Linked DNA regions of Homo sapiens: regions 1 and 3 are each linked to region 2. The links are contacts of gene promoters, found by promoter capture Hi-C in blood cells and fetal thymus (Javierre and others, 2016). All regions are on one chromosome and are shown on one strand. The core of a region is centred on a gene start or on the middle of the fragment in contact, and the rest is flanking DNA. Distances in the headings are between cores, read along the strand shown.

Region 1 (2,700 bases), core at 132-2,631, 1.6 Mb before region 2:
AACTAGTTACTCTGAAAGGTGAGATTCGTATGAACTCTGCAGCTGGAAAATGACCCAACTCATGGGACATCTCTCACCATTCCTCAGTCAATACCAGTAATAATAGTAACTGACAATACTTACTATGCACCGGCCATGCTCCAGCCTCTGTTCTAAGTGTTTGCCTCATTTATTTAAAACTCGCCACCACCCAGAGAGGGAGGAACTGTTACCATCTTCTCTTCAATAGATGAAGCAACTAGGAGACCCAGAAATTGAGTAATTTGCATGAGGCTGGGTTGGCTCCAGAATCTGTGTCCTTAATTAATCACCCTCCTGCCTCTTTGCCTAAACAACAGCAACAATATTAGTGGTAATGAAAGTAGTCATAGTAGTAGCAATATATTTACTTCATTATTTATTTTAATTTTGTTATTATTACCAGTATTTACCATTAAACATATGTGTGTATGTTTAAGATATATTTAATGGTAAATACAGATAATAATACATACACAAGAAATATACACACACACATTTATAAACAAACAAGCTAAACATTTATATATATATATATATATATATATATATATATATATATATATATATAAGCTAGACTATATATGTGTGTATATATGTACCGTTTACTGTGGGCTGTCACAGTTCTAAGCATCTAAGCACTCCAGATACATTCATTAATTTAATCCTCCAGCCACCTTAAGATGTTAGACACTATTATCCTCATTTAACAAATGAGGAAACTCATTTGATGAAATGAGTACAGAGAGGTTAAACAACTTGTACAGGGTCCCCAGTTGGTAAGGGATGCAGCGGGGATTCAAACCCTGGGAGTCTGGTTTCGGAATCTGCACCCTTAAATATGCCAAAGATTCAGACCTCTGGCCAGGGAGTTGGGGCCAGCCTCTCTGGCCCGAGGGCACGCCCACTCACAGAGGACATGAAGACAAAGCATAGACTATCTGAGTGGGCTTGCTGGACTGACCCAGAGTCAAGCCAAAAAGGAAGGAAGCCCTATTGGGTTTTCTGCTAGCCCCTGCCAGCCTATGTGACCTTGAGAAAGTTGCTTGGTGTCTCTGTCCACTGATCTTCTGTTCAGTGTAATGGGGCAAGGTGGATGGGCTTTGACAGGAGTTGTGATGAGTAAGGAGCTTAGCTTCTCTGCCTGGAAGGAGCAAGGGGAACTCTGGTTCCTCTCCCACCTCCCTCCAGGTTGGCTGTTGCATTACGGGAGGACCCCCCCCCCACACACACACAGCTTCTCTAGGGCTGTTTCCTCTAGGTGGGACAGCCCCTGCAGGGCTTGAGGGTGGGCAGCACCAGGTATCTGCTGACTGTCCCTCCTCTCCTGCTGGCCGGATGGGACAGGAGGCATGAATGAGCCATCTTTCCAATGCCTTTCTGTCTTTTCTGGTCCAGGTGTGGCAAAGGGAAGCTGGAAGATGGGGATGGCATCAACCTGAATGACATCGAGAAGGTCCTTCCAGCCTGGCAGGTAGGTGCAGGGGCAGGCTCTCTAACAGCCCACCCCCACCCCTGGAGTCCTGATCCTCTTCCTGGACAGGACCTAACCAAAGCACTCCTTCTGGCTGCTTGTTCCAGCAAGGAGTGTAACCGCCTGTATGGTAGTAATAGGCAGGGCTGGCTACCTGCCATTCTCCAGGGTGTCCCATTGTGATCGTGTGTGTGACAGCCTACTCGGTGATGCTGCAGGCCCTGCTGGCAGGCCTGATGTGCCCTAGAGATGAAATAGACCATGCCCTGGCAACTCAGTGAACTTGGAAGTTTTTGTCCCTTGGCCTGAAACCTCTCTGCAGGTGAAGTGTCCTGTGGTGTGTTCAGGTGGGACTGGCAGGCCTGGAAGAGATTCTAATGTGGCTGGGGCTGTCTTTAGGCTTTTGAACAGTGGACTTGCCCTGCTGGCCTCCAGGTGTCTGCTATGCTTGCTCTTTTTTTTATTGATTGGGCCTCTTTCCTGGAATCAGGCCAGGTTCCAGGACAAAGAGGATTCACTCAGTGAATCCAGGTCTCTAGATACTTATAGTGCTGGACTTTTGGTGGAAACAGCAGGAGTCTAGCTGCTCTCAGGAGTGTGACTGGGCCTGCTGCAGGGGTGTAAAAGCAGTGGACCTTCCACAGTGACTGAGTCTGCCGCTGCCAGTGACCATGACCTACCACCACACTCCACTGTGCCACCCTTCCCTTCTCTCCTGATTCTTCTCCTGCTATTTTATCTATATCCATTCATCTCTTCCTGGTGCCTTTGCCATTTTGTTTCTTCTCTGTTCATGCCTTGGGCCTATCAATGAGAGACAATAGAGCATACAGTTAAGACCTCATCTATTTGATTATGATGTGCCTTGGTGTGGTGGTTTTCTTCATGTTTCTCCCACTTGGGATTTATTGAGTTTCTTGGATCTGTAGGTTTATAGTTTCATCAAATTTGGAAAATTTTCAGCCACGATTCCTCCTACTTTCCCTCAACCCTGGGGTTCCAATTGTATGTATTCTATGCTTCTTCATCTTTTCCCATGGCTCACCAAAGCTCTGCCTGATTTTTTAAAGTCTTTCTTTACTCTCTGTGTTTCATTTTGGATAGCTTTTATTGCTATTTCTTCAAGTTCACTAATATTTTATTCCAGTGTCAAATCTACTGTTAATCCCATTCAGTATATTTTTCATTTCAGACATTGTAGTTTTTAT
Region 2 (2,700 bases), core at 67-2,566:
AAATCTGAAATCTGAAATGCTCCAAAATCTGAAGCTTTTTGAGCACCCACATGATGACATAAGTGGAAAATTTCACACCTGACCTCATGTAAGGGGTCACAGTCAAAACACAAGCAAACAACACATATTTATTCAGCATCCCCAAGGGGAAAATAAAATTACCTTCGAGGTAATGAAATATAAATAAATTCTGTGTTTAGACTTGGGTCCCCTCCCCAAGATATTGCATTATGTATATGCAAGTATTCCAAAATCCAAAAAAAAAATCTGAAATCCTAGACATCTCTGGTCCCAAGCATTTCAGATAAGGGATACTTGACTTGTATAAGCTCCTTGAAGGGAGGGCTCAGGCTTCAATAAAGAGTTAACCTTCCAGGATCATTGTATCCACCCCTGTATCTCCCACAATACTGCGCACACAGCAGGGGCTCAAGCAATAACTCTGCCTACATGTTAGTTTTCTGGTGGGTAGAAACTAATTTGTAGAAACAAAAAAATCTACATGTATGGACCAATAGTGTCTGAGGTTCTCAGCAGGAACCATCAAATTCTGCAGCAAGCACATTTTCCTGGCCTACTACCACTCCAGCCTTAGAGGCAGGCACCTGAGTTTTTCCCAGGTCTGAAGGGACACTTCTGTCCAGCAATGGTTACTGGTTGAGTTGGCACAGGAAAGGCGTTGGGTGCTATAACCACTCACAACCTAATTCCCCTTCCTCAGACGATTTTCCTAGGAGTGAAAGACCAGCTCCAAATCATAGGCCCGCCCTGCCCCCAGATCTGTCTCTGGGCCGGGTGCCCTTTCCATAACACACACTCGCCACTGCATGGGGGACAGACATCCTTCCGGTGTCTTGGAGACTGAAAAACCCTAAGATCCCTAGTGGTGATTCTCCAAAAACAGAACCTAAATATTATAACTTTGGGGGCAGATGAAAGGCTGTAAGGATGAAAACAGAGGGAGATGAGTGGGTGAGAGGTGGGGTAGATAGGTGAGCGACCTTATCTTCCTTCTTTCAAAATTCAACCCACTGCATCAGGCGACACCCGTTCCCCTCGAGAAGGCCCCGGGTGGGGGCCGAAGTGGGATAGGCCAGGCCTGGAGTGCGGAGAGATGGAGAAAGCTGTAGGGTCTGGCAGACATATCCTGTGCTTACCACGATCACCACTTTGGGGGTGGGGCCCTTAACCTCCCGCTGTACGGTGCCAAACCGCTGGCTGTACATTTTCGAGTCCCCTTCGGGACGGGGGCGGCGTCCGCCGCGTTTCCCCCAACCGTGGCGACCTGCGGGACCCGCTTCCGCGACGCAGAAGTCTGGTTGCCATGGTGCGCCTCGCGGGATTAGGGGCCGGTAGAGGTGGGCGGGTCGGGCGGAAGTCGGTCTGGTCACCATGGGGGCCGCAGACGCCTGCACTCGGGACTTCCTCTTCCAGCTGAGAAGCTGAGCCTGCGCAGTCCTCACCCCGCCCCTCGGCCAAATCCCGCCGACCTTGCTCCCTTCCTCCAGGGTTCATCAGAATGGCAGAAAAAACCTCTAGCCCAAGAAAAATCAAAGCTCTAATTACAATTCCAGTTGACTTTGCTATTTATATCTTGTAATGGTCTAAAAGTATGAAAAAGGTTAGCGAACATTTTTTGGGAAGCTTAAATTTTGCACTATCTGTAGGTTAATCTTGATGACGGTAATAATCACAGGAAAACCTTATATTTGTGTAGTTCTTTACAATTTCCAAGATATTTTCACACACACAGCCTTTTAACCTCACAGATTTTTTCTGAGACAAGGTCTCGCTCTGTCGCCCAGGGTGGAGTGCAGTGGCGTGATCATGGCTCCCTGCAGCCTCGTCCTCCTGGGCCTCAGCCTCCAGAGTATCTGGGACTACAAAGCCTGCGCCACCACGCCCTGCTAATTTAAAAACAAATTTTGAAGAGACAGGGGGTCCCGCTATGTTGCTCAGGCTGGAACTCCTGCTCCTGGGTTCAAGCGATCCTCCCCACTGCCCCTCCCGCCGGCCTCCCAAAGTGTTGGAATTACAGGGTGCGCTACCGCGCGTGGCCGCAAATATCTTACAGGGTTGATAGAATAGCAAGTAATACTATCCTTATTTTCCAGCTAAGGCAAAGCTCAGGGAGCCTAAGTGCCTTGTCAAACCAAATAACCAGTAATAATAATAATTTTTTAAAACCTGTTAATAAAATCTTCCTATTTGCCATTGGCAGAAACCAGGGCTTAGACTCAGGATATCCTAGGATGGGGGCAGATCAAATGGACTAGTGGGGCAGTGGCACGACCTGGTGGAGCATAATTAAGAGTCTGAGGGTCACAGTGGACCAGGGTCAGGATGTGGATCAGAAGTCCAGTAACTGGTTTCTGAGAATCAGGATCCAGGCAGAACAGGAAACACAAATCAGGGAACCAGGACGGACCTGCAGCACAGGTGGTAACCACAGTTGCATTTCCAGTCAAGAGCAAGGTGGTAATACCTAAAAGCCAATTAAGAATGACACTGTGATACTCCCATTCTAAAGTGGGGGTGAGCATAGAACACTTGTGAGCACATGCAACAAATCAGTACCTACGTCAAACTGACATATAATAAGTACAACTAATGTGTATGCCCTCTTAAGGACGCAATTTACTGTAAATTAGCATTCCTTAATCATTTGTAAACCACCCACTTCGGATTTTGTATGTGGTA
Region 3 (2,700 bases), core at 29-2,528, 1.5 Mb before region 2:
TGTCCCTCCCTGCGAGCTTGGCGGGGCACTGTGGACACTGGGTTCTCTGCCTGATAAAGGGGGATCCTTTCATGTAGCATGCATCAAGATGCATGCATGGTGTGCTGGGCTGTCTCAGCCACTCTCCCAGGCTTCCCTCCTGCCGGTCCGCACACAAGAGGCAGCGTGCTGGGGAGCCAGTGGAATAAGGGCCCCACAGGGGCAAGATGGCCAGAGGCCATTTCAGCATGACCAGCATTTATGGATCTCCTTCTGTGTACCTAGCAGGGCAGAGTGCAGGGGTAGGGCTTAAGGAGGGGGGCGTGCTGATAGCCTCAGGAGGCCCATCTGTCCCTCCCTCTCTCCCTGGACTCCTCTGTCATCCCATCCCCTCCTAGCTGGCATGATTTTTCCTGTACTCAGATCGCAAAAGACTAGCAAGCCAATATGTTTGCTGGGGGAGTCACAGAAGGCGAAGACCCCCCCATCCCTGCCTTCACGGAGCTTCTGGCTTTGTGAGCCCCCCTCTTCTTGTTGTCAGGCTCCCAAATGACCCCAAAGGGTTTGCTTGCAAAAGTTTGTCCTCTGGACTTTGTGTTTTTCCCCATCTGCTCTACCCTCCTAGTGCCTCCTGGCTCCGGCCCCAGCGCCAGCCCCTGTCTGTCCCTGCAAACACAAGTCAGCTGTGTGTGCAGACAAAGCCGTGCGCCGCAGCGGGGGCCGGGCCTGCAGAAGGGACATTTCCAGGGAACTCTGGGGGCGGCGGCTGGGAGGGCAGAGGCGACTGTCTGATTAGCAGAGACTCGGCGTCACAGTCTAGGGCAAAGAGGGTGCGGGGGATTTGGCCGGGCCCCAGGGGCCAGTGGCTGTGGGTGGTGACCAGGGGAGGCAGCCAGGCTGGAAGAAATCTGCTGTTTGAGAAGTGGAGGAAACGGGCTGGAGAGGAGAGATAACAGCCCGTTCTCTGTGTATCTGCATGCGTCTGCCGGCGAGGGTGGCTGGAGCCGGGCGGTCTGAGGCCATATCTAGCGAGATTTTTGTTCTGGGTTGTGAAAGTGACCTATGGAGCCAGCAGCAGGGTTCAGGGCCTGGGAGAGAAGACACGTGGCCCTCCCCTCTCCTCCCCTTGTCTTGTGTTAGTCTCCCCTCCTCTCCCCCTTGTCAAACAGTAGAAAAGGGAGGGGGCATGGGGGCAGGAGAGGAAGCATTCTTAGTGCGGTAAAAGGCCTGGGTTTCGGTCTGGATTGTACCACTAATTTGACATATGAACTTGGATACTTCCCCTAATATTTCTGGCTGTCTCTGTCTCATTGGCTGTAAAATGGGGATTATTTATAACTGCTCTGCATAGCACGCATGAAATAAGGACGTGAAAATAGTTTGTAAACTGTAAAGTGCCACGTAAATGTTAAAGAGTTGTACTGATTCAAACTGCTTTGAAGCAGGGGCTGGGGCTGCTGATTAAAGACCTGCCTTAGATGAACTAGGTGCTGAGTGGTGGGCAGGAGGGTGGGGTGGGTAGGATCAAGACTTAGGGACCCAGAAGTTTCCATGGAGGCAGGGGTGGGTCACGGGCCCAGCCAAGTGAGCCCTGCCAGAACCAGGACCCAGGGCAGGCGTGGAGGGTGAAGTCCAAGAGCTCTCTGGGTGGGGGTGTTTGGTCATGGGCTTGCAGATTCAAGTAGAAGGTGGCCTGGGTTGGGCATGGACTTCTCCAGGGAGACAGGGGAAGCCATATGAAGCCCCTTGCCCATCAAGCTCCAGGGCCCCTGCCTGGCCTGGAGCATAAAGTCCCACTGATTGCAGAGGGATGGGGGCAGCACTCTGTTTTCCTCTCCTGAGCCTCTGCCACCCAAGGAAGCCAGGTCCCCCTGTCCCCCCACCCGCTCCCCATCCTGACCTGGAAATCAGCCCTCTCTGATGTGGAAACTCAGGCAGGAGCTGGCAGGGGTGACAAGACTGTGAGCGGGAGAGAAGCTGAGCTATTTAAAGCGTGCAGCGCCCAGGGGACATGAATGCCACCCACCCACAAGGCCTTCTCAGCATTCGCTTTCCCCTCCTTGGCCCAGATCCCAGGCCCTCAGTGCACCCACAGGGCCACAGGTCAGGTGCCCGAGGCTCTGGGAAGCTGCAGGCGGACAGGTCCTGGGGCTGGCATGAGATGTGGTTCAGTCCAACCTCGGCTTGGGTTCCCTCCTCTGGGCCTCCGGGCTGAGTTGGCGGGGCCACACAGACTCCTTGGCTCCTGTGCCTTATAAACAGGGCTGAGTGTGAGTGTGGAGCTTAGAAGAGGAATGCCCACGCCTGTGGCCCGGGGCAGCTGCCACCACCCACCCCCACTCCACTGGCTACCAAGCCACCAGACTCAGAGAGCCCATGGGGCAGGAGTGGGAAGTGGGGAGCTTCGCCTGTAGACCCTTCTCCCCTGCCCAGGCCTGGCTTCCCAGAACACCCCAGATTACAGATGTTTTTCTCCTTCATCTCCAATTAACATTTACCTGTCCTGGGTCCTAACCTTTAGTGAATGACAGGGTGTACTGTCCCTCCCTTCCTATCTGGGAAAGGCTGATGTCTTAGCTGGGAAGAGCAACTGGGATCCAGGCCTGTTAGACACAGGGTCCCATGTAGGCCACCACAGGTCTGGACCACCTGGGAGGCCTAGCTGGGGGGCTCCCAGGGGCCAGTCCACCAACCACAGCTGGTCTACATTGCACCAGCACG

The links. Contacts are between HindIII fragments. The CHiCAGO score rates a contact against its expected background, and 5 or more counts as called.
Region 1: a contact is called between a fragment that was not itself captured here and the fragment with the promoter of CFAP53 in region 2, in 3 of 17 cell types (neutrophils, naive B cells and total B cells). The highest score is 8.8, in neutrophils.
Region 3: a contact is called between a fragment that was not itself captured here and the fragment with the promoter of CFAP53 in region 2, in 1 of 17 cell types (naive B cells). The highest score is 5.4, in naive B cells.

What each region holds. Positions count from the first base shown.
Region 1 is chr18:48,669,253-48,671,952 of GRCh38, forward strand. It overlaps CTIF (cap binding complex dependent translation initiation factor), which reads left to right. Exons shown (of 12, transcript NM_014772.3): 6 at 1,417-1,492. It overlaps MIR4743 (microRNA 4743), which reads left to right and starts at 1,348; the gene lies at 1,348-1,416. The HindIII fragment of the contact is 6,169 bases long and covers 1-2,700 here.
Region 2 is chr18:50,265,179-50,267,878 of GRCh38, forward strand. CFAP53 (cilia and flagella associated protein 53) reads right to left here and starts at 1,317. Exons shown (of 8, transcript NM_145020.5): 1 at 1,158-1,317. The coding sequence starts at 1,226. It also overlaps a transcript of MBD1 not described here. RefSeq lists enhancers at 721-1,566, 913-1,042, 1,213-1,282. The HindIII fragment of the contact is 1,610 bases long and covers 33-1,642 here.
Region 3 is chr18:48,780,570-48,783,269 of GRCh38, forward strand. The region is part of intron 9 of CTIF (cap binding complex dependent translation initiation factor); the gene reads left to right. Among named protein-coding and RNA genes, the nearest start is that of CTIF-AS1, 60 kb to the right of the region's middle. RefSeq lists enhancers at 1-606, 1,237-1,868 and a silencer at 427-609. The HindIII fragment of the contact is 3,104 bases long and covers 1-2,700 here.